2 separate regions of the Homo sapiens genome follow, and region 2 is linked to region 1. The links are contacts of gene promoters, found by promoter capture Hi-C in blood cells and fetal thymus (Javierre and others, 2016). All regions are on one chromosome and are shown on one strand. The core of a region is centred on a gene start or on the middle of the fragment in contact, and the rest is flanking DNA. Distances in the headings are between cores, read along the strand shown.

The links. The method cuts DNA at HindIII sites, captures the fragments that hold promoters and counts their contacts. A CHiCAGO score of 5 or more calls a contact.
Region 2: a contact is called between a fragment that was not itself captured here and the fragment with the promoter of HMGB4 in region 1, in 1 of 17 cell types (M2 macrophages). The highest score is 5.6, in M2 macrophages.

The regions. Positions count from the first base shown.
Region 1 is chr1:33,862,040-33,866,154 of GRCh38, forward strand. HMGB4 (high mobility group box 4) reads left to right here and starts at 2,040. Exons shown (of 1, transcript NM_001379301.1): 1 at 2,040-2,752. The coding sequence starts at 2,153. The coding sequence ends at 2,713. All of the region lies in intron 5 of CSMD2 (CUB and Sushi multiple domains 2), which reads right to left. The HindIII fragment of the contact is 10,607 bases long and covers 1-4,115 here.
Region 2 is chr1:34,689,707-34,693,722 of GRCh38, forward strand. No RefSeq gene overlaps it. Among named protein-coding and RNA genes, the nearest start is that of MIR552, 22 kb to the left of the region's middle. The HindIII fragment of the contact is 1,625 bases long and covers 705-2,329 here.

The DNA.
Region 1 (4,115 bases), core at 790-3,289:
GGTTGAAGAGAGGTTGGAGAAGGCTGGAAAGGGGATCTGGAAGGGCAACTCTTAGATACCCAGCACACAGCATTGATTTAGGAAGCCAGATTTATTTACCTTTCCTAAGCTCCCCTAAACAAGGACTTCCCCTGCTTCATCCTCCAAGTTGGAACTTTGACAACACCAAAAGGTTGACATAGCTTTTCCCTTTTACTGCCTTTTCTTCTTAAATCTGCTAGCTTCCCGATAGCTATTGTGGGTTAATCTTCCTGGATCTTATCATGAGAGGGATGGAAGGTTAAGAGGCACAGATAAGCTACTCTGTGTGTGTGTGTGTGTGTGTGTGTGTGTGTGTGTGTGTGTGTGTGTGTGTGTCTGAGCCTGAGCAGAGTCTGATGAATATGTGGACTTTCATTAAAGTTCTTCCTCATGTCCCATCTTTTGATCTCAGAAAGGAGCTGTGTCCCATTCATCTAGGCAGCCCTGCTCATGTCCAAAAAATGTGTGAGTCAACCTCTGGCCCCTTGGGAGAAAGAGCCAGGGGGAAAAAGGCTACCTAGGCTGAGAAGTGTCCCCAGAGTAATCCGTTCCTTTGCGAGACCCCCTACTAGCCCAGACTTCCTTGATGGCACCTGATATCTTATAGGCCCCCAAATCCTGCCACACAACTACAGCTTGTCCCCTGGAGGGGCTTCCCTGGCCAGTCCAGAATGCTCAATTTATGAGAGATCATTGGCTCACAGGGAGGAAGGGGATGGCTTAGGTAGGCCAGCCACCTTGCAGCAGAGCTGGGCAAGAATTCAGGATTGGAGACTCTTATTAGTTTCCATCTTTCTTTTACAGAAGATGAACACTGAAGTCTTGGAACCCTGGGAATGAACCTGGAAAAATTCAAAATATGGTCTAGTCTTAGGCAAGTTTCCTTGTCCGGCTCAGCTGCTGAGACCACATATCTGGACCCTCAGTGCCCTGGCAACAGCTCTGTGCAGGCAGGATGAAGCACAGGCTTAGGTCAAGCAATCAGCCGTCAAAATCCACACTCTCACCTGTGAGTGGCTGTTCAACCTTGAACATGTTACTTTTTATGTTAATGAAACTCAGTTTTCTAGTCCTATAAATTTGGGGCTATCATCAACCATTAAGTGATATTAAACCCAGTGCCACACAGGCAAGTACCTAGCAGTGTCCAAAGGCCCCCAGAATGACACTTTTTCATCTTTTCTCTTCCCTCCAATTGAAAGACTAGTGGAATATCTGCAATTACTTTGACCAAAAGCCAGAAGCCGGCCAGTTTGAGTGTAGCTGTTACAGCTTTGTGTTCTAAACCTAAGAAATGGGGACCCCTCACATGAGAGTGGGGAGGCTTCTGGATGTGCTACAAATTCCATTTCATTTTCATGAACTCCAGTGTTAATTAATAAAATCTCAAGGTTCTCCCCCCTCTTTCGCCTCACATTTCTTCAGAGAAATGAAGAGTTCCAACTCATAGCCCAAGTGCTCAGGTTTTAAATTAGACAACTTTGTCCTGACAGGAACCAAGTCACAGCTGTCATACCTGATTACTTTTAGAGTTACTACTAAACCCTTTGTATGGCATGAGCTGCCACTGTTCAAGGCAAACAGAAACACTTCACATTTTATCATGACAGCCCTGGATCTATCCACCTCCCCATGTTCATTATGCTCAGCCTGTCTTTGGAAGGGATGATGAGGCATCCTGAAAATCGTATAGTGAGGAAGGCAGACCCCATGGCCTGTCACTACAGCCTAGGGATTTTAAGCCCCTAAAGTGCAGCAAAACCCACTGCCTCCAGGAAGCCAAGGAGAATTATTTCTGGGGGACATAGCTGCCTCATAGCCTACTATGAATGAACCATCATCTTTCATGAGAGGCAAACATTGACCCTCAAGTAACCAACCAATACGAGCACCTGTACACAAATGCCCACAGGTGTTGGCTGGGATTGGCTGGCTTGTGGATGATGTCACAGTTTCCCTCCTCTGACTCAACAATGCCATCAGCACTGAAAAGGCTGAGCCCTGACTACAGCTCTTGCAGACAGAAAAATTCGCTGCAAGTACAGCACTTTCTAGATTGCTCCTGGAGTGTGGGAACAACAGTCTCTCCTGTCCACGTTACTGAATCCAGAAAAAAGGTGAACTTACGAACATGGGAAAAGAAATCCAGCTAAAGCCTAAGGCAAATGTCTCTTCTTACGTTCACTTTTTGCTGAATTACAGAAACAAATTCAAGGAGCAGCAGCCAAATACCTATGTTGGCTTTAAAGAGTTCTCTAGAAAGTGTTCGGAAAAATGGAGATCCATCTCAAAGCATGAAAAGGCCAAATATGAAGCCCTGGCCAAACTCGACAAAGCCCGATACCAGGAAGAAATGATGAATTATGTTGGCAAGAGGAAGAAACGGAGAAAGCGGGATCCCCAGGAACCCAGACGGCCTCCATCATCCTTCCTACTCTTCTGCCAAGACCACTATGCTCAGCTGAAGAGGGAGAACCCGAACTGGTCGGTGGTGCAGGTGGCCAAGGCCACAGGGAAGATGTGGTCAACAGCGACAGACCTGGAGAAGCACCCTTATGAGCAAAGAGTGGCTCTCCTGAGAGCTAAGTACTTCGAGGAACTTGAACTCTACCGTAAACAATGTAATGCCAGGAAGAAGTACCGAATGTCAGCTAGAAACCGGTGCAGAGGGAAAAGAGTCAGGCAGAGCTGATGGATCCAGTTTGAAAAAACAAAATGCCATTCAACCGTATTTCCTGTTCCTGGTCTCATGTGTGGCATTAGAGTAGCTGTGACTGATGCTTTGTGGAGGAGGGAGTGGCTTGGTAGAGGAGAGACTGATCCTGAGGAGGGGAACGGAGAGGACGGGAAGGGAAAGAAGGGGAAGGGAGGAGAGGAGGGAGGGGAAGGGAAGAGAGGGGAAGGGAAGGGAAAGGAGGGGAATGGAGGGGAGGGAAAGGGAGGGAAGGGCTGGCTTTGAGAGAAGTGTCAGCAGTAAACAAAAGGTGTGACTTGGGCCACTGGGTGGGAGCCTCCAGGTGTAAAGTAGCAGCAGTCATGGAGGTAGAAGCACCGTGGTTCTGAGTGGTGATCCAGGTGAGAGGACCCTACTCAGTGTCAGGTTCAGGAACATGACGTCTGACTCTGCTAAGCAGTGGCAGGACTGGGAAGACTGCCAGGGCTAGAAGGCCTAGAGTTCAAGCTCACACTTGAGGCCCCAGGAGAAACATATGGCATCTGAGTTGAGACAGGCCTGAGGGAACCCAGGATTTCCAGCAACACTTAGATACGCTCAGTGGGGCCAGGGTGAACTCCCAGGGGTGTTCCCTAATCAGGAGGAGGCAAGGGGCAGATTTTACCAAAAAAAAAAAAAAAAAGCAGGGGGCTGGGGAACCAGATCAATCGTTTTTCAGTGGATAGATGTATAATATGTGGCCTCCACTCCTCTTCCTCTTGTTCATAGCACTCTGACTCCCTTTCGTGACCAAGGCTGGATAAGAGGGCAGGATCGCCTTGGCCACAGTCATTGGCTCAGTGGTGGGCATGTGACCCAAGTTGGTCCTATCAGGGTGGACCTCTGGACCTGTGTAAGGAGTCCTGGGGGACACCGCAGTCCAGGGAATGTGGACAGCCATTTGCCATCTCATAGGGCCCAAGAAGGAGGCCGAGATGCTAGAATCCCTGTGGCATCAGAACAGTCTCCTAAACTTTTCATTGAAGATGAACAACACATTTCATTTTTTCCCTGACATGGTTTGACTTAGGTTTTTTCCTACTTGACTATAATTTGACACAAATGGGATTGTGCTGTAAGTGTCTGTCTGGTAACTAGATTTTTCAGGCAAGAATATACTGTAGGCAACATTCCATACCAATCAATAAAGATTGAAATGGAATATTTTGAAATGGTTCTTCTGACTTCTTGACATCAAAAATACTGGGCCAAAATGCAAAGCTGCTTTTTTGTCACCAGTTTATACATGCAACAGATCTCCCTAACTCCACCTCTAAGGACCCCTATTCCATGATAGAGGGACCTACACTTTCTACTCTACTGCGCTGAACAGTAAAAATACATATTTTTGAACAGTCTTTTAGAACTGCATGAGCCTTTA
Region 2 (4,016 bases), core at 267-2,766, 830 kb after region 1:
CTCCTTCTCAGGAACCCATTCCATCCACCTTCCTGCACTAAGGTGTCACTAACCCAAGCCTGCCTGCTCTCTGTAGCTGACTACGTTAAGGGTGAAGGAGGGTATAAAATAGCACACAGCTGAAAACATTTAAAATTGTCACCATCAAAGAGTTCTTTAACCACCTCAACAAAGGATACTTCCCATAGTATTCTTTATTACTATGACTGTGTACCCATCTGTCTTATCACTCTTCTGGAGCCCCAGACTGCTGCCCTGTTCAGAGGCACTTAATTTCTCTACCATGAACATTATTTAATCTCCTCTTTTCCTGACTGTTACAAGACCCTGAAAACTCCCTCCCTTTTGAGCTGCCAGTGAACTGTTCGGGAATTCCTGCTAGCTTGTTCTGTAGAGCAATTTAGTTTAGAGCCTCCCCTTTCCAGACAATTCGAGGTGGAGGTAGGGAGTGAGCCTTCCCTTGAATAATCCAAAAAGCCTGACTATAGTGTTTTTGTTTTTTTTTTTAAACAAAAGAGCAGCCTTCCTTCTGTTGGGCACCTCCTCGCCCCACACCTGGAGTTTAAAAGTGGCTGTAGGCATTTCTATTTTTAAATAGCATTTTTCCCTGGCTAATACACATATGCAATACACAGAAACCCCTGGAAATTCCTTGAGTTTTTATTAAAAATTCCAGATGGTGCAGCAGAGATTTCAGACACTAAAGCTTCTGTTAACAACAGGAAATTAATAACCAAGCTGACTCAAAGTCAACATCGTCTGGTTTGATGACAATAACGTGAAAAAAAAGGAAGCAGGTAACACAGCATTTGAGGTGACACAGTGTCAGAGGCACAAGCTGCAGAATGAGCAAGGCCTGGGCTTGAATCTCACATCTCCCATTTATTAGTGGGGAAACCTCGGGGAAGTCACTTAACCACTCTGTGCCTGTTTCGTCATGTGCAAAACAGAAAAATAACAGGATAGCTCTGCTGTCATGCCTCGTAAGTGTTCCTAAAAGTCACCCGCTATGGATAAACAAAGTGTAGTATATACACACAATGGAAGATTATTCAGCCTTAAAAAAGAAGGAAATTCTGACCCATGCTACAACATGCGTGAACTTTGAGGACATTATGCTAAGTGAAATAAAACAGTCACAAAAGGACATATACCGTATGATTCCACTTATAGAGTAGTCAAATTTCTAGAGACTGGAAGTAGAATGGTGGTTGCCAGGAGCAGGGGAGAAGAGAAGTGGGGAGTTGTGAACTGGGTATAGAAGTTCAGTTTTTTTAAGATGAAAATAATTCTGTGGATGGATGGTGGTGACAGTAGCACCACAATATGAATGTCCTTAGTACCACTGAGCTGTATATTTTAAAATGGACACATTGGGCTGGGCATGGTGGCTCATGCCTATAATCCCAGCACTTTGGGAGGCCAAGGCAAGTGGATCACCTGAGGTCAAGAGTTCGGGACCAGCCTGGCCAACATGGTAAAACCCCATCTCTACTAAAAATGCAAAAATTAGCCGGGCACAGTGGCACATGCCTGTAATCCCAGCCACCCAGGAGGATGAGGCAGGATAATTGCTTGAACCGAAGAGGCTGAAGTTGCAGTGAGCTGAGATCATGCCAATGCACTCCAGCTTGGGCGACAGAGCAAGACTCTGTCAAAAAAAAAAAAAAAAAATCACAGTGAAAATTTTTATGCTGTGTCTTTTTATCACAATTTAGAAAAAAATAAAATAAAATAAAACAAAGAATCACCACACTGTGCAAAAACCACAGGGTTCATGAGAACAATGGAGTTGGGGTACAATGCTCATAAACTTCCTTCGGCGACACACGAAAAATAAAAGAAACCTAATAAAAAGGGTAACACGGTTTTACACATGTTAAATGCCATAAAAGACATACATAGACACTACAATAAGCATGACGCTACACACACTTCACTCTGTATGTGGAAGCGAGCTTCAGAATTACTGTCAGGTGGTGGGAGGAGGTAGATCTGGAGTCAGAAGGAAGGTTGTAGCATCCTGTGAGTGGCCATAACACACAGGAACTGAGAATGCTGGGAGATGTTTGAAGTGTGTCCATGTGTGTGTTATGTATATTCCTACACAGCTCAGTTCAACTGGGTGCAATTTTCTGCACTCACCTTGTGTTTCTCACACACCAAATCAGACATAAGCAAATGCAAAACTAACATGATGCTCAAATAGTTTCCTGACACATGGATCGCATTGAAACAAATTTGCATTTTCAAAATAAGCACCGTAGCCAAACAGACTGTATCTACCTGATGGAATTGTTACAAGGATTATGCGATTTAATGCAGATGAAGCTTTCAATAGTGCCCACCCCATGGTAACTGCTCAAAAATAATGCTAGTGACTGTGGTGTGTGGAACAATGGCAGTGGTTATTGTGGGGCCATAGCTATTTTTCATGTTACTACTCCAAAGGGAGTAGCCCAGAGATGGACGAAGGGAGACTGCATGCCCATTTTACAGATGACAGAACTAAGGCTCAAAGAATCTGAGAAATTTCTCAAGATCATACAAGAGTCTGGTACAAAGTGCACAGAAGTCTGGACCGCTGCACCCTTCTAGGTCAACAGAGGTGACCAGATGGTTTCTGCGAACTCCTGCAGGGGACATGGTCAAGTACCCAAATGTCTGCTTACACCCCAGAAAATAAGCTGGCATATAGAAAGGGGCAAGGAACCACAGCTGGAGAGCTCCTAGGCTTTAGGGAGCCTTTAATTAAAAACAAAAATGAAAAAACAGATATAGAACTTGTTTCGTGTTCCCTGGGTGCCTGGTGGTTTAATCACTTTGCTCAGGTCAACAGGCCTATCAGGAAAAGTCTCTCCACCTTCAGGGAATTTGAGCCCTTTTTAAAAGGCAAAGAAAATGGGTAAAACTTTCAGTTCTGTCTGAAAAAACAAGACTGACTTTTCTGGTGGTTCCTATTGACTTGGAAAGAGCACATCTGCCCGTCAAATGGCATTTTACCAGCTGATCAATTTGGTGTCATTCTCATTGAATTAAATCAAATTGAAATGTAATTCCCTTCCCGGAACAAATCCCCCTGCAGGGATTCGCTGCACAGAAGTGTTTGACCTTGTACTGGCTGCCTAGAGGGCTTTCCAGAAATCTAGGGGCATATGAGAGGTCTGCAGAGCTCACGGAGTGCTGGGCACAACCCACTCAGCTGACTTTCAGGCTGGACTTTGCAGGAATTAGAAAAAGCCTCCCCCACAAGGTGGTAAAATTACAAAATGCTGCCTCGTCTGGAAGGGAGAAGCTGCTCCTTCTTCTAGGCTTTGGCAGCCCCAAACCAGGCTGCAAAGGTTGGAGAGTATAAGTGAGCTGGTTTTTAACCCCAATCACCCCCCAGACTCAACTTACCCAACCACAGGCAGCAGCACTAGTCAGCTCCCATTGCGGCCACCATAGTAGGCTCAGCTCTGAGAGATCCCTGGAGCACAGGCTCAGCTCCGGCCAACACAGATGTGGCTCCAAGGATCCAGTGGCTCTTGGCTGAACTGGCTACAACTGTCTCTACCAAGCCTTGGGAGACCCTAAGTACAAGATCACAAAGCAATCTATGCCCAGAACTCCCCATGGAACCTGAGGCTGTGCACCTCTGACCTGTGACCCTCCTGTCCTTTATCCATCCCTTCACTCTGCCTTGGAAGTCAGAGGACCTGCCACCAAATCTCAGCTCTCCTGGGCCAGTGACTTAACCTCTCTGAGCTTCAGCCCCTCACTGTCAAAGCTACAGAAGCAATACCTGACAGCCACATGTGGAAGTGAGCGTGGGACCGAGAAGCAAGGCTGCCCTCTGAGAAAGAGGTTAGTAAAATCCACGCAGAATGATGAAATATGTTGTCTGTTGGCACAAACCAAGAGATGACCTGAAAATGTGACTGAACAGAGTTTGGGAAGACCCCAAAAGCCAATCATGGTGGCCTGGGTATGGTCACGGGGAGGCAAGACTTTGGGAGGGGGTGATGGTAATTGAG